Regions from separate parts of the Homo sapiens genome. Here all the other regions are linked to region 1. The links are contacts of gene promoters, found by promoter capture Hi-C in blood cells and fetal thymus (Javierre and others, 2016). All regions are on one chromosome and are shown on one strand. Each heading gives the region's core, a stretch centred on a gene start or on the middle of the fragment in contact. The rest is flanking DNA. Distances are from core to core; before and after follow the strand shown. Region 1 holds the start of GMCL1 (germ cell-less 1, spermatogenesis associated). Region 2 overlaps AAK1 (AP2 associated kinase 1). Region 3 overlaps AAK1 (AP2 associated kinase 1). Region 4 has its middle 4.0 kb from the start of AAK1. Region 5 has its middle 40 kb from the start of AAK1.

Region 1 (3,597 bases), core at 395-2,894:
TTTTAATCTATGATTCCTTTTTTACAATATATAACACTTGTATAGCAAAACCTTTTTGAATCTGCTTTTAAAGTTTAATTTTAGGCCGGGTGCGCAGTGGCTCACGCCTATAATTCCAGCACTTTGGGAGGCTGAGGCCAGCAGATCACCTGAGGTCGGGAATTTGAGACAAGCCTGGCCAACACGATGAAACCTGTCTCTACTAAAAACAGAAAACATTAGCCAGGCGTGGTGGTGCGCGCCGGTAGTCCCAGCTACTCGGGAGGCTGAGGCACAAGAATCGCTTGAACCAGGAGGTGGAGGTTGCAGTGAGTTGAGATCGCACCACTGCACTCCGGCCTGAGTGACAGAGCAAGGCTCTGTCTCAAAAAGAAAAAGAAATCATTTAAAAAATTTCATGTGTGACCCTACCAAATAACCTTTAAAAACAAAAGCAGAAAAACCAAATTGTTTGTGTAAGCATATATTCTACCTATAAACTACATTCCAGGTCACAAGTCAATATTCCATCTTTCAACTCATCCAAAAAAAAAAAAAAAAGGGGTTAAACAAGCTGCAGCAGCACCGCCCTACATACAGTACATCCACGGTCAACGACTTCATCAACTACTAGAAACTTGCACAGACTCTGTTCCTAGTTAGGAACAAATGTACACTATTGATAAACTTCACCTTTACAATTAACAAGAACTCCTGTGTGCAATTACTTACCCTCCACTGAGTGGGCGACAATAAGAGTGCCTATTTCAGAGATTACATTTAGTGTCTGTACTAAGGCAACCGGATGCAAAACAACTTACTCTGCGGCTACCCACTTGAGAGGGCAAAGGTGGACTGGGAAGGCCAGCCAGCCGGGCGTCTCTAAGGTTTAACGAGACGCGAGCTCGGGCTTGGCGTTTCTCATCCTCATCTTGGGGCTGTAACAACACCCTGGAAGCGTCTGTGGTTGAAAATGCGGAACACCTGGCGTCTCCCAAGGCGCTCCCCAGTCCGCCCCGCATCGGGCCGGCTTCCACATTCACCCTGTCAAGGGCACGTCCCCTCTCCATAGGCTGGGGAGCGCTGCACCCCGCAAGCGCACGAGGCGCCGGCTCGGCCCCAGGCCCAACAGGTGCGGGTCCGGGTCCGCGCGGGTGCGTGCCCCCACGTACCTTCGAGGGGTGTTGAGGAGCCGCTGCTGCTCGTCCCCCTCCTCCTCATCCTCGTCCGTCTCCGAGTCAGGGTGACAGTAGCAGAAGGACCCGCTGCTCCGCTTGCGCTTGTGGCTGCCCGCACAGTAACAGAATCCGTGGCCCGCCGCATCGTCTCCAGTGTCCGGCCTCCGGGCCGAGCCCCCCGCCCTGGCACCCTGCGCCTGCTGGGCAAGGGCTGGTCTTGGCTGGCGCAGCACCCGGCTGCTCAACGATCCCATGGGTCACGGCTCCCCGAGACTTCAGGGAGCCCAGAGAAGGGGGTCTCCCGCCATGGCTCGGCCGCCGCCGCCAGCCTTCCCCGAGCGCAGGTGCCTACACCGCCACCTTCTCACGCGCAGCCCCAACCGTTGCAGCGGACGCCACAGTCTCCATCCTCTTCCCCGCCCGCAGCGTCCGGTCGCGCCGCGCTCTAGCACCGCAGCACCTCGCCCCCTCGCTTTCGCAACAAAGCGCGGGACGGAGGGCGCATGCGTACGGCGAGCCTCCGGAAGGGGCGGGGCAAGGCGTGCGTGCGTGGCAGGTGGAGCCTGCGCACAATCCGGCGCGCCAGTGCAGGCTGGTGTTTTCGGGCCTGCGGTGGGCGTGGCCTCTGACTAACCCGAACTTCGGCGTAGACGTAGTGTTAAACCGTGGTTCATACGCGCCTCTGTAGTGGCAAGACCTGGGACTCCAGTCACTCATTGTTTCTACAAAGGTGCCTTGAGTCCCCGGTGCTTATGGGCCTGTGCTAAGCTAGTGGCAAAACCCCGAAGCTATTTGGTCTCCTTGCGGGAGCTCGGCGCTTGCTGGGGCCACGCTCTGCTTGCTTGGGCGTGGCCTCCTGTGAGAGGGGGCCCTAGGATGAGGCGATATGCTGGATTCCTGGGCTTCCTTAACATGAGCCCTCCCCTGCTGTAGACGTGAATGGAACCCGTTAAGTTATGGGAACGTTCCCGGCACTCCTTTCCTTTCCTCTCAAGTGCCAGTGGGATGTCCGAATAGGGTCTGGCACCATGACTGTCTGGACTCAAAAGTGCCTTCAGGAGGCCCTAGCAAAATTTACTAGTGTCTGCTTGGAGTAGTAGCAGCTCTTGTGATGGACTCCGGACAGCCAGCGTTCATTCCCTGACTCCCTTCTGTTACTTTTTAAGTAAAATAATGAAAATATTTCAAATAGAGTAATACAGATTCCTGTGGACCGACCACTAGCTTGAAATTTTATCAGACTTGCTTTCATTCTTTTTTCCTCCCAGCTTTATTGAGGTGTAATCAATGATTCATTCTTTTTTAAATAGAACAATACATATAGGCAGAAGCCCCTGCGTACCTCCTCCATCTCATTCTGTCTCCCTCCCCAGTGGCAATCACTGTGCTGAGAATGTTGTATATCATGTCCATGCATGTCCTTATATGCATACCCATAAATAATATTTTCTTTTGCATGTTTAGACATATCATGGAATGGAATCATAGTTGTACCTCTCATTGTGCACCTTTCTCCTCTCTCAAAATTATACTCTCAAGATTTATCCATTTGGTCAATCGCTAGATAATTTTCACTGCTCATTGTATGACTGACCCATATTTGTTTTTACATTCCTTAGTGAGAGAGGTTATTTCTACTTTAACGGCCTTACAGAGCAGCAATGAACATCATGTGCAATGGATTCACCAAGCAGATTCCCAAAAGTGAATTTGCTGCGAAATCTGCAACTTTGTTAGCTATTACCAAATTGCTCTCTGGGTTGATTGCATCAAGGTACCAATTTAGACTCCCATTGGCAGTATACGTAGTTTGAGGGTCCCCGTGGACTAATGTCTGATTCATGCATGAGAAATCTGAACCGAGAGAGGCTAGCCGAGGCAGCTTGGGGTGGAGGTGGGAGGCGGAGAATAATGGCTGCAGAGGGATCAGCTTGCATACACAGAATTTGCCAGCACAAAGAACGTGCAGGTGTTTCCCATGGAGCAGATGTGGACCACCATGAGACAGCTTAGGTCCTGCCCAACAGGCCTGGGAGGAAGGCAATGAACTTCAGCACTGAGAACCTCAAAGAGTCACCAAATTCCTAGAGGCTGAAAAAGGAGTACACATTTGCCTTGCCAGAGGAACCTCAGGTGAGTAGCGTGATGAGGTTGACAAAGGAACCCACAAGAATGCCCACAAGAATCAACTTTAGTCTGTCAGGGTCACATAGGGCTGATCCTCTACCACCACAGCAATGACAGTCAGGTAACAACTTTCCTGCTCCCCTTAACTCTCTTCTTTGCTACAACCCAGACATGGTAGGTTGGGGCAGGGGGAGAACATTGAAGGAAACCTAGGTGGAAAAAGAAGAGAAGCCCATGGTCTCCCTTTCCCCAGAAACCAGCTTCCTACTTGCAATAGGCCAGAGGTGAGTGAGGGAAGAAGCATCAACTGTAA
Region 2 (3,597 bases), core at 639-3,138, 230 kb after region 1:
AGTTCTGTATCCTGACTGTGGTTGTGGTTACACACATCTACACATTATAAATTTACATACAACTACACATACATATGAGTGCATGTAAAACTGGTGTAAAACATCCTCAGCATGTTTTTTAAGTCTCTGCCTCAGCCTGGAGTGAATAAGGTCTGTGGATTGTGCCAATGTCAGTTTCCTGGTTTTGACGTTGTACCATAGTTATGTCAGATGTCACCATTGGGGGAAACTGGATGAAGGGTACGTGGATCTCCTCTGCACTATTTTCGCAACTTCCTGTGAATCTATACTTAATTCAAAATAAAAAGTTAGAAAAAATGCATAAGAAGGAAAAGGCAGAGCAAGGAGAATGGTTAGGGTTTCCACTAGTTTACCATGATTTCATTGTGAAATGCTATGTTCGGATACCATGTAAGATGCTTGGGAAGCATCTTTTTCAGAAGTTACAAAACACAGTGTCTACCCTTGAGAAATTTGTTGTTGAATGGAGGAAACAAGTTTTAAGTAGTGATCATTCTGTGTGCTGGCTTTTAGTAGTAAAGGTAGGTACACAGCAAGGTGAGAGCAAGGAAAAAGGGGACAAACTGCTGGGGTAGGGAGGGCTTCATAGTGACACAAGGACTGGGCTGACTCCAGGGAAGAGTGGGAGTTTGTGTGGCACATGCTGGGGCTCTGTAAAAGCCCGGGTGAGACATAAGGCTGAAATTAGTGCTAGGAGGAATTGAGAGTAGGGAATGGATTCAAGAGCATTTTGGAGAAGCATTGATGCAAATTGTTGAAGTACTGTGTGTTGAGACAGAGAGGGAAGAGTCTGAGGTGACTTAAGTTTTCAGCTTGACTGAAAGCATGGTGGCTCCATTAGCCAAAATTTAGAGTCTAGAAGGAGAAAGGTTTTGGCTAGGGTATGTTTAGTGTGAGGTATCTGAGGGACTCCATGCAGAGAGGCTGGGGTGCAGTTGGGGTGTGGCACCCGGGAGAAGCAGTGCCAGAGCTAGAGACGTATTGGACCCTAAGGTGCAGCCCCACTGGACCGCTTGCCACTTCCCCAGTCATCCTCAGCATGTTTTTAAAGTCTCTGCCTCAGCCTGGAGTGTCCCTCTGTTCCTTCTCCATCCTGTGAAATCCCACCCCTGTGTCAGCTCGTATGTTCCTTCAGTGTCTGCTTCAGAATAGAGGTGATGACTTTAAACCTTGCGAGCTTGTGGATTTTGTCCACTGATACTATGGTGGGGCAAGAAGGTAAGAGGGTGAGTTAGCAATGAGCATTTGGAGGTGTCGTGCCCTAGAGGAGGAGAGAAACAGTTGGAGAGGAGAAGAAGCATGAAAGCAATGAGGCCACATGGAAGCTTGGCTGCTCAGCCTCTGCAGAGCTGCCCACCCAGAATTAGACATGACCAGGAGAAGAAATAGGCAGTGAGCTAAATCACAGAAGTTCATGACAACACGAAAGATAAGCATTCACTCTACGTCACCCCAGAGCTCCACCTCCTGTGTAAAGCTGCCTGACATTGAATGGTGTCTGGCCAGCCTGATTAATTTTTAATATTTGATTCTCTGGTGAGGTGGCTAGGCATTGAGGTGCATCAAAGGCAGCTTTTGTTTCTATGAAGTTGGTCAAAATAACACTGGAGAGTCAGGTTACTGCAGCCTTGAGCTCTGGTTGTTCTGAAGGGATGAGATCAGACTCTCTAACTAACCGAGTTTCAGAAGGATCTTTGCCTTTTGCAAGGAAAGTTATTTGGAACTGGAAGTGGGTATGCTTCCTCTTGGATTCTATATCTCTTATTATCGGAAAATACCTCATTTTTCAGCCACAGATAGAAAACAGCATCAGTGCATCAGGTTTCCAATTCTGTCCATGACTCAAATGATGTCTGAGTTCTGAAAACCTGCTGCCAACTCCTGAAACACCAGAGAATTTAAACACAAATGTTCTCTAAATAATATGCTCCTTACGCTGTGTAGCCTGCAAAGCAGATGATGATGATGATGATGATGATGATTTTAATTCTGCACAGTATCTCCTTAATTCTCTAATTTCCCCATCTTTTAAATTGTATACCTAAATGTTCTCTCTTAAAATTTTTTATTTTTTACCCTCTTATCTTTCTACACAGAGCCCTTCATAGCTGAGGATGGATAGTATCTGAGTGGTGAGAACCTACATGTGAGGAGAGCTGCTCTGAAGTGACTCACATGTGGATTTGCGACCTTCTGCAGTGATGGCTGGTTAGGCAGGAGGGGGAAGATCATGGAAAGGGAGGCGATAGTGTGACTCCATTTTATCAGTGGTATGCTTTGTGAGAGCCCACAAGCTAACAGAGGAATTGCCTTTTATTCTCAGAATAGGGTTCTCTCTCTCTCTCTCCTCTGTTTCTTGCGTGCTGGCTCGTGATCTACCTACTTGTAAAGATGCTTTCACAAGCTTGAAAGACTCCACAGTGTCATGGACTGTGAGGAAACTCTATTCTACCCACTTTTGCCTTACTTGGAAATTTTTACAATAATCATGATTACTTTTATAATCAGAAAAGTTATAAACAGTCCCACTGGAAAAATAAACATTTAAAAATCAGGAAAAGATGTTCAAATGTTGAAAATGCCTCTTTATTGAATTTCTAAGTCTTTATCTTTTTTGACTTCCATAACTGATAAATTATTTTAATGAATTTCTTGATATTTGTCCATCCCTCCATCCATTCATCCTTACTTTTTTGAACCAACTTGATTTTGCCATGGTGTCTTATTCTTTTAATGTACTGCCTGATTCAATTTACTAGTAATTTGTAAATGGGATAATACATAGTTTTCTTTTCACCTGTACTGAATGCCAGAGTTTTGGTATTAGGGCTGTACTTAACTTGCTCCATAAAATAAATGAGGAAGCGTTTCATATTTTTCTGTTGCTTTTTAAAAATTTGAAATAATAAATACCATCTTTTTTTAGTGAGCTTAGTTTATGTGAGGCACAATGATTGGAACCCAGATCTGCACAGCTCTGAAGTCTTTGCTCATCCTGTTTGTCACTGCAGTATCAAAGGAGGAAGGCCAGCCTTGGAACCCTGAGTCTCTGTGGTCAGGAGCGCCTCAGGGGGCTGGACTTTTCACTCATCTTGTCCTTTTCTTTTCTTAATTAAAAATTTCATTTTGAAATAATTTCAGTTACATAAACAGTAGAAAAATGATACACAAGATTCACATATACTCTTCACCCAGATTCACCGATGGTTAATATTTTGCTACATTTGTTTTATCATATTTTTCTGAGTTATTTGAAAGTCAGCCACATAATATATAATATCCCTTTATAATTATATACAGTATATAATATAAACATTTTAGTGTATATTTCCTTAAAAAAACAAACTAAACTAATAAAAAACAAAGTATAGATGTCACAATCAGGATATTAACTTTGATATAAACTGTTATCTAATCTGTTTATTCAGATTTTACTAATTGTCCCAGTCGTGCCCGTTGTAGCAAAAGAAAAACATTTTCCTTCGGTTCAGGATTTAATCTGGGATCAAACATTGTGTTTAGTTGTCATGTCTTTTAAATCTCTTTTAATCTGGAACAGCTCCTTAATCTTACATT
Region 3 (3,597 bases), core at 551-3,050, 200 kb after region 1:
ACCTGCTGCCTATCCAATTTAAATGCTTGTGTGCTAATGCCGCAGGTCTGCTGCTTCCACCAGGCCTGCGCCCTCCTCACCATCTTTGTACCGTGGATTTAGTTCTTTCCAGTTCTTTACTCATGGTGTTCCCCGCAGCTGGGATATTTCCTCCTTCCCCACCCGCCTACCTTAGTCCTACCTAAGATTTATTTTACCTAGCCTAGGTATTCACCACAGCTGCCTCTGGATGCCTGTCTTTTTTTGCTGGCTATCTTAACTTTTTTGGGCCCATAACCTCAAAGTTTTATTTTACTGTTTATTTTGTTTGTATCTACTTTCTAGTGTTAGATAATTAGTTATTGCCTTAGGCTTATTTTGTATCCAATTGAGTACTCGTAAATTTGAACATGGCAACAGTGGGTACTGGAGAATGAATTAACTGGATGAATATTACAGTAAATCAGTACTAATTAAAACTTGCTGGGCAGGCAGGAGAGACTAGACGGATTTGAGATATACAAACCTCCCTTATTTATCCCTATTCCAATCGTATAATAGATCTGTGTTTGAGGACTTCACCTCGCTTATTACAATAAGAACTATTGAATCTTATAGAGTTTCAGTAAAGTTGAGAAATAACAAAATCCAAAGCAAAGTAGAACATCTTTCAGAAAGCCATGTGAATCTCTATTGATTGGATTAAATTATTGGCGTCTGGTACCATTGATCTCAAAAGTAGAGATATAGGGTGTATCTTAGCTATATAAAGGAACTCTAAACCATTTAAATGCTATACTGTAAAGATGGAGACAATTAGCTCATGTGTCAAAAACTCAGATATTACTGAAATTCATCTTTAAGCAAAGCATACATTCATTTTCTAGTTGATGATTGGCATTGGCCTGCAGTAAATTAGGACAGTGATTTTTAACTTGTATTTGGGGTAGTGAGCATGCAGACAGGTCACAAATAGGAAGGGAATATATAATTTGAAAATGCATAGATTGGCTCCAGGTCCAGCCAGAAAAGGAGAGAACCTCAAAGAAGATGGGGATTGGCTGTATACCCTCTAAAGAGGCACATTATAGACTTAAGAGGTCGGAGTGTGGAGAAGACGTGAGATTTTCATATTTATCAAAGAAGATATGGTTTTTAAAAGACTGATAAATATGGCATTAAGCAGCTGAGTTATAAAATGAGTCTAGAGAGGTGGTACCTGTAGTTGAGTACTGTATGTACCTCTGGGAACAAACATATTTCTTCCTGTTCTTGCTAGTTTCAGAGAGGAGGAGTGAAAAGAGCAATCAACAGCAAATTCTGCGTGGTGGTTTGCTGTGAGCTCCACAGCATTTTTGAAAGGTCAGCTCTAGGTGGCTCGCTCACCAATGATGAGAATTTCCTTGAAAAAAGTTAATTTTAGATCATAGAGACTTCCTCAGAAGATGAAGTATTCCTTTCTCTTTTAAAATCATAGTGTTAGAATCAGTATAACATCAAATGGGTTATTTAAGTGGCTGTCTACTCACCCAGCAATTATGTGGTGATTTTTAAGGTGGTATGACAGAGTGTTGTTCAAGTCTACCATCAAATCCTGCTTCTAGGGTTAGCTCACAGAACACAAATGAACAACTGTATGAGATAGGGAAGTAGGTTATCTGGTCTCTTCAGTGATCTTGGATATATCACTTCCCCTCTCTGAGCTTGTCTTATGTGAATAAGGAGATCACCGGGTGATCTTGAAGGTCTCTTCTAGTGCAAACATGGTTTTTAAGTTCTGTGGTTTTTGTTGACACTATTTGGGAGGGAGAATGAGATTGGGTTGATGAGACGGAAATGTTAGACCTATGTAGCTGGGATAAGAAAACATTAAAAAAAAAAAGAAAAGAAACAGGGTTTTGCTATGTTGCCCAGGCTGGTCTCAAACTTCTGGTTTTAAGCAGTCCTCCCACCTCGGCCTCCCAAAGTGCCAGGATTACAGGCGTGAGCCACCACGCCCAGCCAAGACAATAGTTTTGAGGTGGATTGTTAACCTTGGCCTACGTATGGTCCTCACAGGGAGGTATCATTCTTACTGGAGGTGAAAGATTCCATTCCTTTTTTTCTGCTTTCCTTCTTTCTATATCTTTACCTTAAACTTAGAAAAATCAGTGTTAATAATTAGATGTTGCAGATGACAGAAAGCTAGATTGGATCTTGGGCTACTGGCTTAAGTGACTGGGTAGATAATGGTGTCAATAAAAAGAAGAAAGAATAGTGTTTGAGGAAAAGAGACGGGCTTCAGTTAGGGACTTTTTAATGAGCCATCAGTGGAAATCCAAGTATGGATGTAGTTCAGGATGCTGTTGCATAGGACTGGCCTGCATTGTAGAGAAAAGTTGGAGTGGGAGTTGTCATAAAACCACAAGATAGGAATGAAAACTGAAATGGAGTGAGATCTCATAAGGAGACTGTGTGGAGGAAGAGGAGTCCACCTGGAATAAAATCCAAACTCCTCACACTGACCTGCAAACCCCTACAATAGCTTGTGTCTCTCTTCCCCTCAACCACTTGCTTTTTAGTCACAGTGATTCTTGTTCATCTTTTTTGAGCATAGAACATAGTTTCTTCTTTAGTGTCTAAGGCTTGGCTGGTGCCTTTTCCTGGAATGTTCTTCCTTCTTGTCTTCCCTTGGTTGGCTTTTTGTCATTCAGAGCTCACTTAAATCCCACTTCATAGAGGCTGTCCTTTACCGCCCAGTGTAAGGAACCAATCCTGTTTTATTTCACCGTGTAGCATGTATCAGCAGATTTTCTTGCTTATTATTTATTTATCACTCCCACTCCCCCCACTAGAATTTCAGCTCCATGAGAATCTTTTTTTTTTTTTTTCTCTTTTTGAGACAGAGTCTCACTCTGTCACCCAGGCTGGAGTGTAATGGTGCAGTCTCGGCTCACTGCAACCTCCGTCTCCTGGGTTCAAGCGATTCTCCTGCCTCAGCCTTCCTAGTAGCTGGGACTACAGGCGCCCGCCACCACGCCTAGCTAATTTTTGTATTTTTAGTAGAGACGGGGGTTTCACCATATTGGCCAGGCTGGTCTCGAACTCCTGACCTCAGGAGATCCACCCGCCTCGGCCTCCCAAAGTGCTGGGATTATAATTGTGAGCCACCATGCCTGGCCTCCATGAGAATCTTGTCTGACTTGTTCATGGCTGGATCCCCAGTGTCTAGAATAGTGAGTGCCTGGCACATCTGCAGAGCTCAGTAGAAACCAGTTGAATGAAAGAGTAGGCACATGAAGGAGGCAGAAAGAATGATTGACGGTAGAATCAGGAGGATGTGAAGTGACGAAAATAAATCCTAAGTAAAATTAAAAGAAGAAGGGGCCGAGTGCCCTGGTGGCCCATGCCTATAATCCCAGCACTTTGAGAGGCCAAGGCAGGGGGATTGCTTGAGCCCAGGAGTTCAAGACCAGTCTGGGCAACATGGCAAAACCCTGTCTCTACAAAAAAAAAAAAAAAAAGCCAGGCATGGTGGAATGCACCTATAGTCCCACCTACTTAGGAGGCTGAGGTGGGAAGATCGCTTGAGCCTGGGAGGTTGAAGCTACAGTGAGCTGTGATCGCGCCACCTCACTC
Region 4 (3,597 bases), core at 745-3,244, 180 kb after region 1:
CAGTAAAGCACTGATTACTAAGCAACTACTAAAAGAATATTTTTAGAGAATATACAATGAAATAGGAAACTATGGAATGAAAAAAATAAAATATAAATATATAATGTGATCTAATATAGTAAAAAAGGTACTTATATATGGAAACATGCTAAAAGGAAATTGATCAAAATGTCAATAGCAATTATCGCTGAGTGGTAGAATTATAGCTGATTTTTATTTTCTTCTATCTACTTTCTTCAATGAGCACATAATTACTTTCTTAAACAAAATCCAAAACCAAAATCAACTGGAAAATAAGAAGACAAGGCTCAGTTTAAAAGAGAAAATTAGGCTGGGCGCGGTGGCTCACACCTGTAATCCCAGCACTTTGGGAGGCTGAGGTGGGCAGATCACCTGAGGTTGAGAGCTCGAGACCAGCCTGACCAACATGGAGAAACCCCATCTCTACTAAAAATGCAAAATTAGCTAGGCGTGGTGGCACATGCCTGTAATCCCTGCTACTCAGGAAGGCTGAGGCAGGAGAATCGCTTGAACCTGGGAGGCGGAGGTTGCGGTGAGCCAAGATTGTGCCATTGCACTCCAGCCTGGGTAACAGAGCAAAACTCCATCTCAAAAAAAAAAAAAAAGAAAAGAAAGAAAGAAAATTAAAAATTAAAAAAATCAAGAAACGTCTTTTTTTTTTTTTTTTTTTTTTGAGACTGAGTCTTACTCTGTCTCCCCAGATGGAGTGCAGTGGTGCACTCTCGGCTCACTGCAAGCTCCGCCTCCTGGGTTAAAGTGATTCTCATGCCTCAGCCTCCCGAGCTGGTATTACAGGTGCATGCCACCATGCCCGGCTAATTTTTGTATTTTTAATAGAGACGGGGTTTCACCATGTTGGCCAGGCTGGTCTTGAAGTCCTGACCTCAAGTGATCCACCTGCCTCGGCCTCCCAAAGTGTTGGGATTACGGGCATGAGCCAGCATGCCTGGGCAAGAACTGTCATTTTTTTAAAAAGGACATGGTTCTTACAAGTTCGCTTCTGCTAAACAGTGGTTCTCAAACTTGAATGTGTATTAGAATTACCTGAAAGGTTTGTGAACAGAAACTGCTGCCTCTGCCCCTCCCTCTTACTCAGTAGGTCTGGATGGGGCCCCAAAATTTGCATTTCTAACAAGTTCCACTTCGCTAAAAGACGGCAACATAGAAAGCCCATATGGTGTAATGAAAATGATGTGGGTTTTGAGGTCAGTCTTGGCTCTGCCCTTTTTAAGATGTTTTGTAGAAATAGTTGACAGACTCTAATCCTGCTCAGCCTCTGTTTCCACACCAATAAAAGTAATGCACACTTCATAGATGTATTGTGAGGGTTAAATGGTATGATTAAATACCCAACATAGTGCTTGACTCAGTTAAGGATTTTAATTAATGGTGGTCCCCTTTCCTTTGATTTCCTCAAAGATACAGCACACTGGGTTTATGGTAACATGATTTAGGTGTACCACAGGTCAAATCATTTCCTTCAAACTTAACAAACCATACATGTTCATCTGCTACTAACAAAATCTTCATTGTTCATCTATAAAATTGGGAATAATAGTGTAACAGTATTTTCTTTGATAAAATAGATAATACTGTCTACTTTGTAGGCAACCATGAAGATTAAATAAAATAATATCAGTCAGGCACGGTGGCTCACATCTGTAATCTCAGCACTTTGGGAGGCTGAGGTGGGAGGATCACCTGAGTCCAGGAGTTTGAGGTCAGCCTGGGCAACAAAGCAAGACCCCATCTCTATTTTTTATATAATTATTTTTTTTAAAAAGTGGCTGGGCGTGGTGGCTCATGCCTGTAATCCCAGCATTTTGGGAGGCCAAGGTGGGTGGATGGCCTGAGCTCAGGAGTTCAAGACCACCCTGGGCAACATGGTGAAACCCTGTCTCTACTAAAATACAAAAAATTAGCCAGGCATGGTGGCACACACCTGTAGTCCCCGCTACTCGGGAGGCTGAGGCACAAGAATCGCTGGAGCCTGGGAGGCAGAGGTTGCAGTGAGACGAGATCACGCCACTGCACTACAACTTGAGCTACAGAGTGAGACTCTGTCTCAAAAAATAAATAAATAAATAAATAAATAAATAAATAAAATAAAAATAAAACAATAAAACAATATATATATATTTTTTAAATTCCATAACTGGCATATGGAAGATACATAGTGTTAACTGAAGAATCCCAAGGTTTATAAATTTGGAGAGGGGAGCTTTACTTTTTATAAAGGGTTGCAGCCTGCAGGCTGGTGATCCTGACAGGCTGGGAAGTGTAGACTCTGGCAGAGACTGAAAGCAGGTATTTAGAGGGAGGAAAAAGTGGAACACAAATTTATGCCAAATGAGTTGGCTAAGAATACACACTTAAGTTACAGGAGCTTTGATTATTCACAAAGCGGGGGGCAGCACATGCATGCATAGTGAGCAAACATGCATGTTACATATGTCCTATGTTCTCTTTGGGGTGGAGATTTAACATTTAAATGCATTACAATTAGGTGAAGCAAAGGACATGAAGACACTCAGTGCACAGCCTCTGAAAACCAGCCAGAACCAGTCTGTGGTTGGTAGTCTCTTACTAGGATGTTACTGAAATCAGTCTCTTGTCCAATCAAAGAAATAGTTATGGTTTGTGGAACAGGGGTTGGGGGGATACAGTTAGTCAGCATCTAGTGGTCAGTGAGCTACAATTGATTCAATATTGCTTATCTCCAGGCCAGTGTCTATTTAGCTACCAGAGAAAAAGAAAAACCTTGTGGCAGTTAGAAGATGGTTTACTCTTCAAGTGTAGGGATGTGTGACTTAACCCTTGCCTGACACAGCCTTAGGTCTTGTTTATAATTTGGCATCTTATTGCCTCAAAGAGTCTGTTCCATCGGTCATATGATCACTATTGTAACAATAGTAAATGGCACTTTCTTTTCCCACTCCCTTTGACTATTTACCCATAGCATCTTCCACACCTAGTTCAAAATTCATCTAGGATACTTCAAATCAATCTTTCCACCTTAATCAGATAGCTCTGTTTTGTGTCACATTTAAAGTAAATTATTTACTTTAAGTACTGCTAAGAACACACTCTATGTAAACTATTATACTGGATGCCCAAGGAGATAAGTAGAAGATGGTTCTCTGGCTTTGAGGTGTTTGGTTGAGACAGCAATATACATTAAAAGTTGAACAGGAATGCAAAGCAGCATGGGACAAATTATACAGAAAGTGTGATAGTTTTGAGATTATAGTGGCTGATCTGTTCATTATTTTGTACTCAGGAACTAAAAAATTACTAAGAGTTGTAAGAGCTCTGGTTTTATAGCTGAGATAATAAGCCCAGTGACACAAGTGGTCTAGGATCCCAGCTATGAAGTGGCAAGAGGTTTCCTGTCTCCTGGTCCTATGCTGCTTGTGCGTGGGTTTCTAACTATTCACGAGTCTTTTAATCAGTTAATGTTTGCTCTCTCTAAGTAGACAGTTTAGTATAGCCAGGTAAGAACTGGGCTTTGAAACTAAAATGTTTGGGTTTGAATCCTGGCTTTGCTATTTACTGTGTGACTTTGGGCAAGTCACT
Region 5 (3,597 bases), core at 656-3,155, 150 kb after region 1:
TAACTCTGTCAAAGCCAAGAGATAAATTAGCCCTGACTTGTTTTTAGTGAACTCATCTGGATCTTAATCATTCCTTTTTTATCTAGTGCCTGAAACTGTTCCTCTAATAATCCCCCCTTCTAGACTCTGGCCTGAGATTGAGGTTACAGACCATTATCTACATTTTTTTCTGGCTCTGCTTTCTCTTTCTGAAAATCAGAATACTCCACTGTTACCAGTCTTCTGGAATCTCTCCTATTCTCTATGATGCCCCAAATATCCCTGACGATTGTTGGTGATCCCACAACAATGTTTTCTCAAGACCCAAAGACATCATTCTTCAAAACTGGGGACTTGAAATCACTTGGAGCAGCTTTGGGCTCTTTCTCACTCTATTATTCCATCTTGGGCTTCTATCTTCGCTTACCAAAGTTTATGCTCTTTCTCTATTTCTCCTCACCTTACTGATAACATGTGGAGAAAAAATGTCCTTGTCCCGAAAGTTAGAAGCAGAAGAGAATTGAAGATCTCTGTTTTCTCTATGTCCCCCATTGACAGTGGCCCTACATTTTACCTGATGGGGTTTTTTTTTCTCTTTCTTTCTTTTTTTTTTTTTTTTGAGACAGTCTTGCTCTGTTGCCCAGGCTGGAGTACAGTGGCACAAACATGGCTCACTACAGTCTCAACCTCCTGGTTTCAAGTAATCCTCCCACTGGAACCTCCTGAGTAGCTGGGACTACAGGTGCACACCACCCCACCATGCCTGGATAATTTTTGTATTTTTTGTAGAGATGGGATCTCACCATGTTGCCTAGGCTCATCTTATAGGCATGAGCCACTGCACTCGACCATACCTGGTGTCATTCCTCAAACTTTACTACAAAGACTGTAACACCCAAATTATATCCATCACATAATCTGATAGTTTCAGAATAATGTGAACTTATTTGGAGCTTTAGCCTTTCTGACGCAACTGTGTCCCATGTACATTCGGGCAGATGTAATGGCAATTTGATGGTAGGATAGATATTTGATAAGAGATTCCTTTCATGAGTTGTGACACCACATCCTTGTTTGAATTTGCAACAAGCTCCCTACTTTCTAAAGTGAAGCATGGTATAGAGTAGTCTTAAGCTTTTCAATTAATTGGACTTGAGAATTTTTCATCTTAAAATTTTTGAGAAAAACTGTTAATACTTCTGAGCTCGCAAATCACAATCAAGGAGATCCACAAAAATGAAATAATTCAGTATATTTAGCAGCTTTTCTCTTTAATTTTACTTAGCTGATCTTTAACATAACACAACTTAAAACAATCAACTCTTGTTATGCTGCATTCTCTTACCTGGAACTCTCTAAGTTGCCCTTATGCATAGTTCCAAAAAAATGTGAACAATGTTTATGGGTTTTAATCCAGAGGCCCTGAGCTAGGAGATATGAAATCTAGGTTCACCACCGCTTTGTTCTGCCATAACCAGCTGTGCAATCTGGGACAAATTCTCTTGCCTTATTTGTTCACATCTAAGTGTTGTCATAAGTTCCATCCAAATTCAAGAGAACAGAGTAGTACATTACCCAGCTATCTTTCTAAGGGCTCTTGGCTGTCTCCATATACTCTCTAGTAGATGTGTGAGTGTGCAGGTATGTATGGAGGGACAGACTGAAAAACAGTCTGAGTTGGGAGTCTTGGTAGGAAGAGGAAAAGGAGGAGGAGGAGGAGGAAGAAGAAGACAGCGCATATCGTTCCTCTTTGGTTTCTCAGAAGAGGTAATTTCAAAACAAAACTAAGCCAACCTATCAAAACAAGATAATGACAAGGGAGAAAGTAAAGGTTTTTGGCCAAATTCATCTCACAATCATTCTTCCTGTCCCCACAAAGCTATCTGAACTGAGATCTTATTAGCAGACTCCATTTCCAGTAAACATCACTCAATTAGAACAAAAACGGGAAGCTCCCACATGTAGCAGCTGGAAAGAGTCCCAGATGCAGGAAGAGGTTTGTATGACATCATCCAGAGTTATGCAGTAGGAGGGTCTGCAGATTAGAAAATATAGCTCACCTAAGAGTTCTTTTCACTGGGAACTTTTAGCCGCATTTAGCAGGCCTGAGTTTGTTAGAATATATGTTTATTGACATATGTGTGTTTATTTAACCCATATGTAGGAATGTATATACTTCTTGGAAATTATTTAAATGCTAAGGAAAACTTTATTCCTGTCTCTCTGTGTGTATAAACACTTAATTAAAAGACCAGAAAAAAATATAGACAAATACTATTATCCTTGTGCATGTAGAAAAATTTTGTTCCTGTTTTAAACAATAACGTGGATATTTTAGTAAAAATGATACATGCTTACTGTAAAATATTAAACAAATTAGAAAAGCACAAAGAAGATCATAAAAATCATCTGACGTCTCAAGACTGAGAAATAAACACTGACAGCATTTTGTTAAGAACTCTCTAGACCTTTCTCATGCCTGGAGATAGATGTTCACTCTTACATGAGTGGCATGTTCTTGATTTGCTGCACTGTATTTCTCCTTACTTCTCAATGATGTCATTCATCTCTTTAAATGTCACCAAATATAGGGATGTAATGTGACTTCTAAGGACCTCATAGTTTTCCATTTTATTTTGTTTATTTCATATTTTCATATACTTAGTCAATTCCACATTAAAAAAATACAGTTGTTGAGAAAGAACTTGTTAAGCTTCAAAAGAACCATTACATAAAGAATGTGAAGTTATATAAAGAAACTCATTTACACAAGAATCTGTTTTAGTTGTCCCTATTCCAAAAGCTTGAAATAGTGTATGTAAACAATGAGGTACTGTAAACATGTAAAAGGGTATCTTTATTATTACTGAACCATTAAATAAAATTAAATGTTTTAAAAAGCAAGGATGAATCATAAAGTAAAACTCAATAGATTCCACAACATAGAAGAAACGTAAAATATCTTAAAGAAAATTTAAAAAAAATTTATTGAAACAAATGGAAATTGACATAGAACGTACGAAAACCTATGGGATACAGCAAAAGCAGTGCTAAGAGGGGAGTTTATATCAATAAACACCTACATCAAAAAAGTAGGAAGATTTCAAATAAATGATCTAAAGATGCCTTCAAGGAACTGGAAAAGCAAGAACGGGCCAGGCATGGTGGCTCACTCCTGTAGTCCCAGCACTTTGGGAGGCTGAATCAGGAGGATGGCTTGAGCCCAGGAGTTTGAGACCAGCTTAGGCAACATACTTAGGCAACATAGGGAGACCCTGTCTCTACAAAACATTAAAAAAGTTTAGCCAGACACAGTGGTGCACAATTGTGGTCCCAGCCACTTAGGATGCTAAAGTGGGAGGTTCACTTGAGCCCAGAGGGTCAAGGCTGGAATAAGCCATCATAGAGCCATTGTACTCCAGCCTGGGCAACAGAGCAAGACCCTGACTCAAAGGAAAAAAAAAAGCAAGAACAATCCAAACCCCAAATTAGTAGAATAAAATTAATAATAAAGATCAGAGCAGAATTAAATGAAATACAGACTTAAAAAACAATACAAAGGATCAATGAAATGAAAAGTTGTCTTTTTGAAAAAGTAAGCAAAATTGATAAATCGCT

What was found. Contacts are between HindIII fragments. The CHiCAGO score rates a contact against its expected background, and 5 or more counts as called.
Region 2: a fragment that was not itself captured here is called in contact with the fragment with the promoter of GMCL1 in region 1 in 2 of 17 cell types (naive CD8 T cells and total CD4 T cells); the score reaches 6.0 in naive CD8 T cells.
Region 3: a contact is called between a fragment that was not itself captured here and the fragment with the promoter of GMCL1 in region 1, in 5 of 17 cell types (naive CD8 T cells, non-activated CD4 T cells, total CD4 T cells and 2 more). The highest score is 7.7, in naive CD8 T cells.
Region 4: a fragment that was not itself captured here is called in contact with the fragment with the promoter of GMCL1 in region 1 in 6 of 17 cell types (total CD8 T cells, naive CD8 T cells, naive CD4 T cells and 3 more); the score reaches 7.9 in total CD8 T cells.
Region 5: a contact is called between a fragment that was not itself captured here and the fragment with the promoter of GMCL1 in region 1, in 1 of 17 cell types (total CD8 T cells). The highest score is 6.0, in total CD8 T cells.

What each region holds. Positions count from the first base shown.
Region 1 is chr2:69,827,707-69,831,303 of GRCh38, reverse strand. It overlaps GMCL1 (germ cell-less 1, spermatogenesis associated), which reads right to left and starts at 1,644. Exons shown (of 14, transcript NM_178439.5): 1 at 1,152-1,644. The coding sequence starts at 1,411. LOC124906021 (a long non-coding RNA gene) reads left to right here and starts at 1,773. Exons shown (of 2, transcript XR_007086846.1): 1 at 1,773-3,290. RefSeq lists silencers at 980-1,155, 1,103-1,182, 1,563-1,792 and enhancers at 766-1,686, 2,203-2,292, 1,687-2,608. The HindIII fragment of the contact is 7,336 bases long and covers 1-3,597 here.
Region 2 is chr2:69,602,147-69,605,743 of GRCh38, reverse strand. All of the region lies in intron 2 of AAK1 (AP2 associated kinase 1), which reads left to right. Among named protein-coding and RNA genes, the nearest start is that of AAK1, 40 kb to the left of the region's middle. The HindIII fragment of the contact is 1,079 bases long and covers 1,349-2,427 here.
Region 3 is chr2:69,626,549-69,630,145 of GRCh38, reverse strand. The region is part of intron 2 of AAK1 (AP2 associated kinase 1); the gene reads left to right. Among named protein-coding and RNA genes, the nearest start is that of AAK1, 15 kb to the left of the region's middle. The HindIII fragment of the contact is 6,287 bases long and covers 1-3,597 here.
Region 4 is chr2:69,645,918-69,649,514 of GRCh38, reverse strand. It overlaps a transcript of ANXA4 not described here. Among named protein-coding and RNA genes, the nearest start is that of AAK1, 4.0 kb to the right of the region's middle. The HindIII fragment of the contact is 9,897 bases long and covers 1-3,597 here.
Region 5 is chr2:69,681,687-69,685,283 of GRCh38, reverse strand. It overlaps a transcript of ANXA4 not described here. Among named protein-coding and RNA genes, the nearest start is that of AAK1, 40 kb to the right of the region's middle. The HindIII fragment of the contact is 1,579 bases long and covers 1,116-2,694 here.